Linked DNA regions of Homo sapiens: regions 2 and 3 are each linked to region 1. Evidence: promoter capture Hi-C in 16 types of primary human blood cells and fetal thymus (Javierre and others, 2016). All regions are on one chromosome and are shown on one strand. Each heading gives the region's core, a stretch centred on a gene start or on the middle of the fragment in contact. The rest is flanking DNA. Distances are from core to core; before and after follow the strand shown. Region 1 holds the start of ZNF362 (zinc finger protein 362). Region 2 overlaps RNF19B (ring finger protein 19B). Region 3 overlaps CSMD2 (CUB and Sushi multiple domains 2).

Evidence for each region. The method cuts DNA at HindIII sites, captures the fragments that hold promoters and counts their contacts. A CHiCAGO score of 5 or more calls a contact.
Region 2: a fragment that was not itself captured here is called in contact with the fragment with the promoter of ZNF362 in region 1 in 1 of 17 cell types (total CD8 T cells); the score reaches 5.6 in total CD8 T cells.
Region 3: a contact is called between a fragment that was not itself captured here and the fragment with the promoter of ZNF362 in region 1, in 2 of 17 cell types (M0 macrophages and M1 macrophages). The highest score is 7.1, in M0 macrophages.

Annotation. Positions count from the first base shown.
Region 1 is chr1:33,254,413-33,258,319 of GRCh38, forward strand. It overlaps ZNF362 (zinc finger protein 362), which reads left to right and starts at 2,080. Exons shown (of 9, transcript NM_152493.3): 1 at 2,080-2,242. RefSeq lists silencers at 1,469-1,568, 2,011-2,070 and an enhancer at 2,536-2,830. The HindIII fragment of the contact is 6,922 bases long and covers 1-3,907 here.
Region 2 is chr1:32,954,097-32,958,100 of GRCh38, forward strand. All of the region lies in intron 1 of RNF19B (ring finger protein 19B), which reads right to left. Among named protein-coding and RNA genes, the nearest start is that of RNF19B, 8.7 kb to the right of the region's middle. The HindIII fragment of the contact is 5,060 bases long and covers 1-4,004 here.
Region 3 is chr1:33,606,062-33,610,038 of GRCh38, forward strand. The region is part of intron 41 of CSMD2 (CUB and Sushi multiple domains 2); the gene reads right to left. Among named protein-coding and RNA genes, the nearest start is that of ZSCAN20, 140 kb to the left of the region's middle. RefSeq lists enhancers at 1-123, 1,401-1,901, 1,902-2,402. The HindIII fragment of the contact is 2,316 bases long and covers 828-3,143 here.

The DNA of each region.
Region 1 (3,907 bases), core at 830-3,329:
ACCCGGCCGTGTCTTTAGGCTCCTCTCTGGCTGTGATGGTTTCTCGGACTTTCCTTGATTTGGATGACCTTGATAGTTTTGAGGGGTACTGGTCAGCCAGCAATTTTGTTGGATAGCCCACTCTTGGAGTCTGTCTGTTTTTCTCACAAGGCTGGGGTTATGGGTTATTGGGAGGAAGACCACAAAGGTAAAGTGTCATTTTCATCACATAGTATCAAGCACATATCAACATGATTTGTGGCTGTTGATCTTGGCCTTGATCACTTGTCTGAGTAGCAGTCATCAGCTCTCTCCCTGTAAAGTTACTCCTTTCCTCTCCCTTTCCATATTGTGCGCTTGGGGAGGACGTCACTATCTGCAGCCTACTCCTAAAGAGTAGGGAGTGATGCTCCCCCTCCCTGATTGTCTACATAAATTATTTGGAATTCTTCTGCACAGACAATTTGTCTCTTCTCTCCCGTTTATTAATTTATTATCTCATTGAATTTCTCAACAATGGGTTGGTCCTCTGATTATCGTCATTTCTGGAAACTGGAAGGCCTTCCTTTCTTCCCCACCTCGCTCACCCCAGAGCCAATTTCTGAAGCCCTCTCCACCTCTCCAGGAAAGAGTGGCCTCCTCTGTGCTCTCCCGCCATGCTTTAACATTCCAACTAATTCATGCCACACAGATTTCTTGTGCCCCTGCTCTGTGCCAGGCACTGTGCTTGGGGATTGAGAACAAGCAGTCCCTATGGGCCCTGTCTTCGAGTTGCTCACAGTGTTTGCCATCCTGTGCTGGACTAGAATCTTCGTGAGGGCAGGGGCATTATCCAGTTTTTTAATAGCTGTGCTCCAGCCAACCAGCTATTAAAAACAGTGGTTGATGTTTACTAGGTCCTCTATGAATATTTACTGAATTTGGAAATGCTTCCTGGAGGACAAACGCTGGCAGATGATTGTTTATCTCTGTGCCCTTCCCGGGGGACTGTGCGCTCCCTGAGGGCAGGGCCAGCCCTGATCCATCCTGGCCCAGCGGTCGGGGGGTGGTGGATGCCATAGAAATCTAAGCCGGTGAAGGGATCCTGGAACCGGCTGCCTCCTCAGGTAGAAGTGTAAGTTTGGAAGCTGACACAGCTCGGGAGGCCGAATCAGGAGGACTTGGTGACTGATTGGCTGGGGAGGGTGAGGCGGGAGGAGGAGTCACACAGATGGCTCTGAGGTCTGGAGCCGGGGGACAGCCGGTGCCACCTCTGATAGACTCTGCGAGAGGAGCCACTGCCAGCTTCGGGCCGCCCCATCCGTCGGGGATCCGGCCTAGGGCTAGGGAGGGGTGGCTGGGCCTGTGCAAACTTCTACTCCCCACCCCTATGTCCTCGTCTTAAAAAAAAAATCGGCCTGGATTTTGAGCAGGTCGTTATCAGGGGTGAGGGTCCATCCTGGGGGTCCCCTCCAGGCGGCCGTCTTCGAGGGAGACCCCCAGGGGCAGCCTGGCACCGCGCGGGCTCGGCCTGGTCAGGGCCGTGGCCCGCCAGGCCCAAGTCCCCAGCCTGCCATCACCCAGGAGTGGGGTGGCGAGGCGGCCGCCGGGCCTGGGCAGGACAATGGCCACGGCCGCCGGGGCCCCGGGAGCCCCCGCGCTGGGGAAGGGGCTGTCCTAGGGCCGGGCGCCGGTGCCCTCCCCGCGCGGCTCAGGCGGGCGGAGGGGGGCGAGGAGTTCCTTTGTGGCTCTGCCTCCGGCGCGGCGCGGGCGGGGGGCGCAGCGCAACTTTGCCAGGCGGTGGCGGCGGCGGCGGCGGCGGCGACGGCGAGCGCGAGACGAGGCCCCGGGGCCCGAGTGGGGGCCCCAGCGCGCGGCCCGCCCCCGCCCCCCGCCCGGCCCCCTCCCCTCTCGCGCAGTCGCCAGCGCCCGGCGCTGCCCACTCGCGGGAGCCCCCGGGGCCGGACGGGCTGCGCAGCCGGAGAGGCGGGGGCCCGACGCGGCCCCCCCGGAGCCGGGCGCCTGGCGCGGGGGCTCGCCGAGCGCACTGGGGGCCGCGCGGCGCTGCAGACCCAGCCTCCCGCCGCCGCCGCCGCCGCCGCCTCGGCGCTTGCAGAACCCAGAAGTGAACAGCAGGCGACCCGGAAGGTTTGCGCGCGGCTCCGCAGCGAGCCAGAGCCGGAGCCCGAGCCCGGAGCCTGTGCCGGAGCCCCAGCCCGGCCCTGCTCGGGCCGCCGGGCGCGGGGCTGCGGCCGCGTCCCGGAGGCGCCGCCAGCACAGCCAGGTCCGTGCGGGCCCGGGGCGCGCGGGGAGCGGGCCCAGCGGCGGCGGGCGCCTGCCCGCGGGAAAGTTGCGCCGAGTTGCGGGCGGGGGCCGGGCCGGGGCGCGGGCGCTGTCAGCGCGGGCCGGGGCGCTCCGAGGGCCCGGGGCCGCCTGCGCCTCGGGCCCGGCCCAGAGCGGCGGCGGCGGCGGCGGCAGCGGGGCGCGCGGGGTAGGAAGTGTCTCCCGCGGCGTGTCTGGGGCTGGTCTCCGAGTGTGTGTGCGTGTGTGTGTGTGCGCGCGCGTGTGTGTGTGTTTTCTTAAGCCGGGCTATTCAAACCCTGCTGCAATTCTCCGGTAAACAATGATTCATGGGGCATAATGCAAATAAACGGATTGCAAACGGCGCGGTTCGCGCACTTTGCAGCCGGCCCGGTGGAGCAGCCAGTGCCGGATTTCTCCCTTTTTTTGCAGATCTGCAGAATATGGCGTCCCTGTCCTGTTTTAAAAATAAGCCAGGCTGCCATTTTTGTTTTTCTTTTGTCTGAAAATTTTAATAAAACTGTCTGAGAATGTGGGAGAGGCGGCTGGAAGCAGAGGGGGCACCCGAAGGGTTGGCTTTTTTCCTTTTCTTTGGCGAGAGCCGCGAGCCTTTCGGGGAGGTGAGACACAATGCAATTGCACTTTAAAGAAAAAAAAAAAGGGAAGCTGCCGGGCGATTTGAGGGGGGAGGGCTGGGAATTTAAAGTTAACTCCGAAAGTTTGCTTTGCTTTGCTTCTCTTTCTTTCTTTCTTTCTTTTTTTTTTTTTTTGGAAGGCGGTGAAATGCCGCGAAAGGATCTCGAGGCCCATTTCTCCCCCAGCCAGCTGCCTTTGCAGGATTTTTGGGAAAAGTTAACTGCCGGTTTCCTCAGAGCTGCGCGGGATGGGGGTGGGGGGGCGGATGTGGAGGGTTGAGGATGGGAGTTTTGGGGGAACTGGGAAACATTTATTTGGAAGGGGCTCTATAAACATGGCATTGTAAGGAGCTAGATCCTCAGATCTGGGGGAGAGGGCCGGCAAGAGGGGCTCAGAATGGGTCCAGGATTTCCAGCAAAGACCCCTGGCATGAGGAAATAATCCTGCTGTCCCACCACCCTGCCCTCGAGCAGTGTGGAACCTTCGGGAGCTGTGTGTGTGGCAGTGGGCCTGTCTCCTTCATGGGTGGCCAGGACCCCCCGTGTAGGCTGGAATCTCGCCCAAGCCCTGGGGTGACCCTTGGACCCTGAGGCAAGTGAGCTTGGCCCTTTGCAGTTGGAGAGCCCCCTCCCCAACCTGGTGGTCCTCCTGCCCCCAGAGGTGGCAGCTGGTGGTAATGTCTTCCCCGACCCCACCCTATGATGAACTTTTGGTTGGGTGCAGGCCTGCGGCCCAGTGGGTCCCGTCTGAGGGAAGGGGCAGGAAAGGTAGTCTGGTTTGCTAGACCTCCTCGGTGTGAGCCTCACCCCTGTAGTATGCTCTTATTCCTTTCTGCCACTCCTGCCCTACGCCCGGGAGGTAGAAGCACTTTGGACTTCGGTTAAGTTCCTGAAGTATCTTGCTGGACAGGTCAGGGCCTGCTGGCTCCGCAGGCTGCCGAGGGGGATCTGAAGGCCAGGCCCACAAGGTCTGGGGTGACTGGTGCTGTCCAAGGCACTGGGGCAGTGTTGGG
Region 2 (4,004 bases), core at 449-2,948, 300 kb before region 1:
GATGGGGTTTCACCATGTTGGCCAGGCTGGTCTCGAACTCCTGGCCTTCAAGTGATCCTCCTGCCTCAGCCTCCCAAAGTGCTGGGATTACAAGTGTGAGCCACCGTGCCCAGCCCACTTTTTTTTTTTTCTTGAAAAAGAAGAACATTGGATAGGATCAACAATGTCAATTTTGAGTGTGTAATTTGGTGCCAAGGAAGTAAAATAACCCCAAATTACTCATGAATCCACAGCAATCTATTACTACGACACAGAATTACTCAGGGCACGAGATTTGGCATTCCTGTTTTTGGGTACCTGGTCTGAGCTCTTGCCTCTGACTCATGCTGCATGACATGAAGCTATTAAAATCTCCAAACCGGCCTGGTGCAGTCACTCACGCCTGTAATCCCAGCACTCTGGGAGGCCGAGGCAGGTGGATCACCTGAGGTCAGGAGTTCAAGACCAGCCTGGCCAACATGGTGAAATCCCGTCTCAACTAAAAATACAAAAATTAGCCAGGCATGGTGGCGCATGCCTGTAATCCAGCTACTCGGGAGGCTGAGGCAGGAGAATTGCTTGAAACTGGGAGGCGGAGGTTGCAGTGAGCCAAGACCACACCACTGCACTCCAGCCTGGGCAACAAAAGAGGAATTCCATCTCAAAAAAAAAAAAAAACAATCTCCAAACCTTAGCTTCTATTCCACCAAATGGAGGTATAGGTACTTGTCACATTCAAACGTAGCTAAACACGTTCTAAAACTGCATGTGAGACCTTGTCCTCAAAGATATATGGCGTAAAAACATCGTACACTCTGTCCTACTTTCTGGCTTTTACATACTCTATTCCTTCTACCTAGAAATGTCTTGTCCTTACTTCTTGCCCTGACAAGTACCCATTTAAGAACCAACTCAGGTGTCATTTTCTCTGTAAAATATACTTAACCTCTCTAGGCAGCTCGTTGCCTACTTCGTGGGTGTGCACAATTATTTTATAACACTTACATTATAATGTAACTAACTGTTTATATGCTTGCCTTCCAAACCACACTGGACTTAAGGAGACATATCATCCACTTTTTAATCTCAGTCTAGTATACTGGTTCATGCTCAAAATACCTGTGTTGCATGAATGACAGAGACCCTCTCTTGTTTTGGTTGTTTGACCTTCCCTAGGACATTCTAGGTCTTCTCCTAGGCCATCACTCTGCTCTAAAGCAATCTTTTCAATGTATCCATGTATCTATTGGCTTATTATATGCCAGGTACTATAACCTAATCCTAAAATTTCATATAAACCCACTTTAGTGGTAAACCCCTAAGTTCTGAATACGGTAATCTTCTTCCCGAATAGTTGGAAAAAAAAAACCTCGCCTGGGCATGGTGGATCACACCTGTAATCCCAGCACTTTGGGAAGCCAAGGTGGGTGGATTGCTTGAGCTCAGGAGTTCGAGACCAGTCTGGGCAACATGGCAAAACCCCATCTCTACAAAAAAAAAAAATACAAAAATTAGCTAGGCGTGGTGGTGCATGCCTGTAGTGCATGCCTGTAGTCCCAGCTACTCAGGAGGCTGAGGTGGGAGGACGGCTACAGCCCGGGAGGTGGAGGCTGCAGTGAGCCAAGATCGTGCCACTGCACTCCAGCCTGGGAGACAGAGCTAAACCCTGTCTCAAAAAAAAAAAAAAAAGAAAAGAAAATACCTCATCCTTGAAACCCAATCTGCCCTGTCCACTTTGTTCCTTCTCTTCCACGTCCCATGCTGGTGCATCTCTCCTACTCTGCTCTTTTAGCTTAACCAATCAGTCAGGCTTGCTAATCAGAAGCTAAAAGAAAGGTGTAGAAAATTACATGCTGTGAAGAATACAGACACAGCTGGGTGCAGTGGCTCATGCCCATAACCCCAGAACTTTGTCAGGCAAAGGCAGGAGGATCACTTGAACCCAAGAGTTCAAGACCAGCCAGGGCAACATGGTGAAATCCCATCTCTACGAAAGACACAAAAATTAGGCCGGGCATGGTGGCTCATGCCTGTAATCCCAGCACTTTGGGAGGCTGAGGTGGGTGGATCACCTGAGGTCAGGAGTTCGAGACCAGCCTGGCCAACCTGACAAAACCCCTCTCTACTAAAAATACAAAAAAATTAGCTGGGCATGGTGGCGTGCACTTGTAGTCCCAGCTACTCCCAGCTACTCGGGAGGCTGAGGCAGGAGAATCACTTGAATCCAGGAGGCAGAGGTTGCTGTGAGCCGAGATTGCACCACTGCACTCCAGCCTGGGTGACAGAGTGAGACTCTCTCTTCAAATAACAACAACAACAAAAATTAGCCGAGTGTGGTGGGGCGCGGTGGCGTGTGGTGGCACATGCCTGCAGTCCCAGCTACTTAGGAGGCTGAGGTGGGAGGATCACCTGAGCCTGGGAGGTTGAGGTTCTAGTGAGCTGAAATTGCACCACTGCACTCCAGCACGGGCAACAGAGTTACAGAGTTAAACCCTATCTCAAAAAAATAAAAAATAATAAAAAAGAAAAAGACTACAGACCGCCCACCCCAGCCCCTGCTGCTTAAGTTCATACAACTTTTACTCATTTTATTAATTTCCTAAATCTTCAGAAACTTCATAAAGTGACAAGCTAGACCACAGCATTACTTAGCTTCAGCCCTGGAAAGAGATTTCCATTAGTATAAATTTGATTATGCTCCAATAGACTTCAGTGGTTAAAGAAATGTGTTCCTATATTATGTCTGTACTTTCCATCCCCAAGTCATGTAACATAACTAGGCTACCCATTTACAAATAGACCCCTAGTAGGCATCAGGGTGGTAGACATGCGCCAACTTGTCACAATGAACTGTACCCTTAACATCTTCATTTTTCCTGCCCTATTTAAGACCCATCTCTAGGCTAGACAACTCCAAGAGCCTCCTTATCTGCTCTCCCTATTCCCCACTCCATCCAAATTCCATTCTGGAAGGTTACTCTTTTGCTTAAAATCCTTCAAAGAAAAAGAAAAAAGAAAAAAAGTGCTTCAACCCAAAACTTATTTCCATGGCTTACACAGGCCTATCAACCTGAATCCAGTCCACGTTTTCAGGTTGATCTCTAGTCATTTCCCAGGTATGGGGTCTTGCTATTACCCAGGCTGGTCTCGAACTCCTGGGCTCAACTAATCCTCCCACCTCAGCCTCCTAAGCAGCTGGGACCACAGGTGCACACCACCATGCCTGCTCCTCTGTGAAGTCTTTCTTGAAACCATCATGCAAATTCTATTGTTCTTTCATCTATCTAAGAGCACCCGTATTTTCTTTAGTATTTATCATATGACATTTGAATAATTTTCTATCTATCTATGTATCAATTATCTGTCTCCTCTACCAGGTGAAACTTCCTATCAAGAAAACCATGTCTAAGTTCTTTTTGAAATACCCAGTACTCACCCAGGGTTCAACAGTGTATCATTCTGAAAGTATCTGTTGAAGCCAGGTGTGGTGGCTCACACCTGTAATCCCAGCACTTTGGGAGGGTGAGGCGGGTGGCTCGCTTGAAGTCAGGAATTCAAGCCCAGCCTGGCCAACATGGTGAAACCCTGTTTCTACTAAAAATACAAACATTAGCTGGACATTGTGGCACATGCCTGTAATCCCAGATACTTGGGAGGCTGAGGCAGAAGAATCGCTTGAACCCGAGAGGCAGAGGTTGCAGTGAGCTGAGATGGCACAACTGCACTCCAGCCTGGGCGACAAAGCGAGACTCCATCTCAAAAAAAAGTTGTCTGTTGAATTGAATGATCACCTGTCTATACTATTCTTGCTTATCTCTTTCATCTCTATTCTTCCTCTGAGAACTATGCTGCTCATATTTCTTATCTTTTTCATCAAAATTCATCTATGTACCACACTCTTCTAGAGCCTAATTGAAAGACTTTGTACACAGAGTTGTAGAAATGGTTGGAATATAGATATCCTAGTCTAGAGACATGAGCTCTCAATCTATTCAGAGCATAAGGTTTATGGTTAAATAAGGACA
Region 3 (3,977 bases), core at 736-3,235, 350 kb after region 1:
CTCCAAAGGGCAGGGAAGCTGTTTCCATGAGAGTGGGTGGCCTGACTCCACAGGAGATGCCTCCATGGAAGCAGCTGAGGCCAGTCCATTGGGGAGAGGCTGCTGAGGGATTCCTGAGCAAGGCCTTTGATGAATTGGGTCCACAGGACACAGAACAGCCTTCGTGGCAGTAATTGCGCCCACTCCACTCAGGAAATTGGCAGCGGGAGGAGACAGAACGTTCCTACAGTGGGAATCCTCAGTGGAAGTAGTTGGGACTGGATAGATGCTTCTTAGAAGTACATGTGTTTCTCATACGTAATAACAACATCAATAACGCGGATCTTGAAGATAACATTTCCTGAGCACTCACGTGGCTGTGTTATGTTTCCATTCAGTACCTCACAGGGAAGTCTCAGGGGGAGGAACTGGGCAGGTTTCCCTGGGAAATCATTGAGGTAATTGGGTGTGCCAAAAACTGAGCAACCACATGGGTGGGGTGGCTGCTTAGCCCCAGGACAGGCCTGGCCCTGCAGCACGGGGGTTTGGGCCGTTTGGCAACGAAAGTCTCAGCGGAAGCAGGGGGCCTTTTGCCCAGGGAGGCAACCCAATGGGATGGGTTGGGTCTTTACAGAAAGGCTCAGGGTAGCCACGTGGACTCAGAGACGGGGAGAGAAGGAAGGGAGTGGCTGTGTGTGGGAAGCCAGGAGCAGCCTTGATGAGAGCAGCTGGGCCTCTCCTACAGGAATCATCTCCAGTGGAAGGATCTAGGCTCTTCAAAAAGACAGAAACTTCAGTGAGAGTACCTCAACACTGAGAGAAACCTCAGAGCCTGTTCCCCTGCAAGAAGCTTCAAAGGGAGAGGTTGGCCATATAAGGCAGAAATAAACCCTAAGAGGAGGAAGGATGAACTTCCCCAAAGAAGGACTCCTCAGGAAAGCAAGTGGGTTTGTTCTAAAGGGACACACCTGGTGACAGTGGGAACACACTTCCAAACAAAGTGCCATAATCAGGTAGATACAATTTCAAGCAAAATGCCATTATTTTAAAACATTAATAATGATGATGCCTAGCATTTGGGGACAATTGTACATCTTAGCCATTTTGCTAAGTTCTTTATAAACAGAACCCTCCTGAGAAATTGTCATGGAACACATTAAGCATGTCGGACCGGGAGGCCTGGCTAGGAGTTGCTTATGCTGCTACTAAGAACTTGATGGGAATCTTTACTTAAAGAAGAGAAAAGAAGACCCTAGCATGGGAAGTGCAGAGTATCAGTTGGAGGAATTTTGAGAAAGAGTAAAGAGTTGGACTTCTAAGGAAAGTCGAGGGGCCATAGAGAGCTGGGTCTGACAGAAACAGCCTCAGTGGGGACAAATGGCTCGTTCATTGAAGCTGGGTTTTTCCCCAGAGGAAAAACCTGGGGAGAGTGGTCAGAGCTTGCTTACGAGGTGCCGCTCCGTACGGCGGAGGAAGGTGTAAACAGAGAGTGTGGGCTTATGGTCAGGGAGAGTTATTTGGGCCTATCACAAATGATGAGGCCTCTGTGGGAATACTTAGGCCTCTGGCCCTAGAGGCAACCTAGCCCAAGAGGTTGGGATCGCCCCAAACGAGAAGCCTTAATAGGGGTGGAGCCCAAGTCTGAGGGGAGCAGGTGCCCCGGCACCATGTGTGGCTCCACAGGAGTCCTTGGGACTGTGGCAGACAGGTGAACGCTGAGGGAGTGGCTGTGCCTGGGACTGAAGGGGAACATCCAGGCAAGTCCTGAAGGTCACATGCTTGTGGGAGGAGGGGGCCCATTATAGGGTGGAAGCCCCATTGGATGTCGCTGTGCCTCTCACATGTTGGGCCAACTCCTGGTGGAGGAGCTGGGTGTCTGAAGGCAACTCGCTGCCCCCTGGCCTCCCTACGCAGGGAAAGTTATCAGAGGAGGACTGGGCCTGTGGAGGCTGCAAACCTCAGTGGGAGAGACAGGCCCATCCCAGGGAGGGACACTAGTCCCGAATGTTGGCTTGTCGTCCAGGAAACCTCAGGGGGACAGCGGGGCCCCTTGTGCAGGGTGGCCATAGTGGGAGCATTTCCAAAGATGGGGGCTGGGGAATCAGGGGCGAGTGAGCCCAAGGCCAGGGCTCTGTGGGGGTAGTTAGGCCTCTTCTGTCGAGGGAGTCAATGGAGAATCTGAGGCGGTCACACAGGCACAACCTTTACAAGGACAAGTGGGCTCATCACACGGGGAGCACAGCGAGTGGCTGGTCCCATCACAGGGATTCAGTGGCAGGACCGTGCCCATTGTCTAGGGTGAAGGCACAGTGCACGGGGTGGGCCCAGGGCAGCTGTCCCTGGCACAATGGTGGCACTGCCATTCCTTATATTTATCCGAGAAGGAAGGTCTCAGGGAGAGAGCACTTGGGCCTGGGAGGGGTGCAAGGGGCTGAAATATGTCTCCCAAAATTCATATGCTGAAGACTTCACTCCTTGTGAATATGACCTTATGGGAAATAGACAGGATCTTTACCAAACTTATGGAAATTAAAATGAGGTCACTAGGGTGGGCTCTGATCCAATATGACTGGTGTCTTTATAGAAGGTGGGAATTTGGAGACAGAGGCACATGAAGAGCACCATGTGAAGATGAAGCCAGAGGTCGGGGTGATACTTCTAAGAGCTGAGAATGCCAAGATTGTCATGAACTACCAGAAGCCAGGGGAGGGGCCCGGACAGAGTCTCCCTCATGGGCCTCAGAAGGAACCAACTCTGCTGACACCTTGATCTTGACCATCCAGCCCCAGAGCCATTGGACAGTAAGTTTCCGTTGTTTAAGCCACCCAGTTTGTGGTACTTTCTTATGGCAGCCCTAACAAACTAAGACACAGGAAAGCCTTGGGGGAAGGCGTTGCATCTGTCTCTGAGAGGACATATTTGGGACCAAGTCCCTCCTGTGACATCACGGCCATCCGACGCGTCATGACCTGTTTGACAGGTACACACCTCCCAGATAATAGGCACAGACATCCTTGGGCAAGGCTGGCCTCTGTGATGAGCCTGCACACACCTTCCCTGGGTGTGGCAGCTGTGCTAACACCAGTGAAGTGGCTCTGTCTGGGTGCAAGGCCCAGCTTCTCCTGAGGCTCCCTCTAGATGACAAGCCCAGCCGCACTTACCAAAGCTTTCCCTGAGATGGACCCCGGAACCCTGAAGTCTCCTGCAGAACTGATTCAGTTGCACCCACCTCGTGGGATGCCCTTTAAGGCTTTCCCTAAATGAGAAGCCCAGTACCCCCTCAGTATTCTTCTCTGGCAAGGGAGGAGCTCCATCCCCACCATATTATTTCCAGAATAAAGAAGTCAACTCTCAGAAAGCTGCATATAGGATGGTACTATTTATATAGAAAACGTGGTCAAAAAATTTTATAAAATGTTACATATTTTTCACAGGTACATGTAGCATACATATATCCAGGCCTGGAAAGGTCACAACTAAACAATAGTAGCCGTTTCTGGAGAATAATCCTGGGTTTGGAGGCTATAGACAAAGAGAGCTTTGGCCTTACTTGTAAGGTTTTAATTTCTTTCTTGTATTTTTCTTTTTTTAAAAGATAAATATGTTTGTAAATTGTTTGTGTAATTAAAAATTAACTTTAAAAAACAAAATTGGAAAACTATAGTACGATCCAATTTTGGCTAAAAATATAGCTACAGCAATATATATACCGAGAAAAGCGGGGAATACATATTGAATTGTTGAAAGTGTGTATCTCTGCATAGGGTAGTGACAGGATGGGATTATGGGAGGATTTTGACTTCCTGTGACGGGTGTTAGGGCCTGAATATTTCTGTCCCATCAAATCCCTATGTTGAAACCTAATCCCTCATGTGAGGGTATTTGGAGGCAGGGCATTTGGTGGCCCACCCTCCTAAATGGGATTAGTTCCCTTATAAAAGAGGCCTGAGAGAGCTCTTTTGCCCCTTCCACCATGTGAGGACGCAGTGAGAAGATAC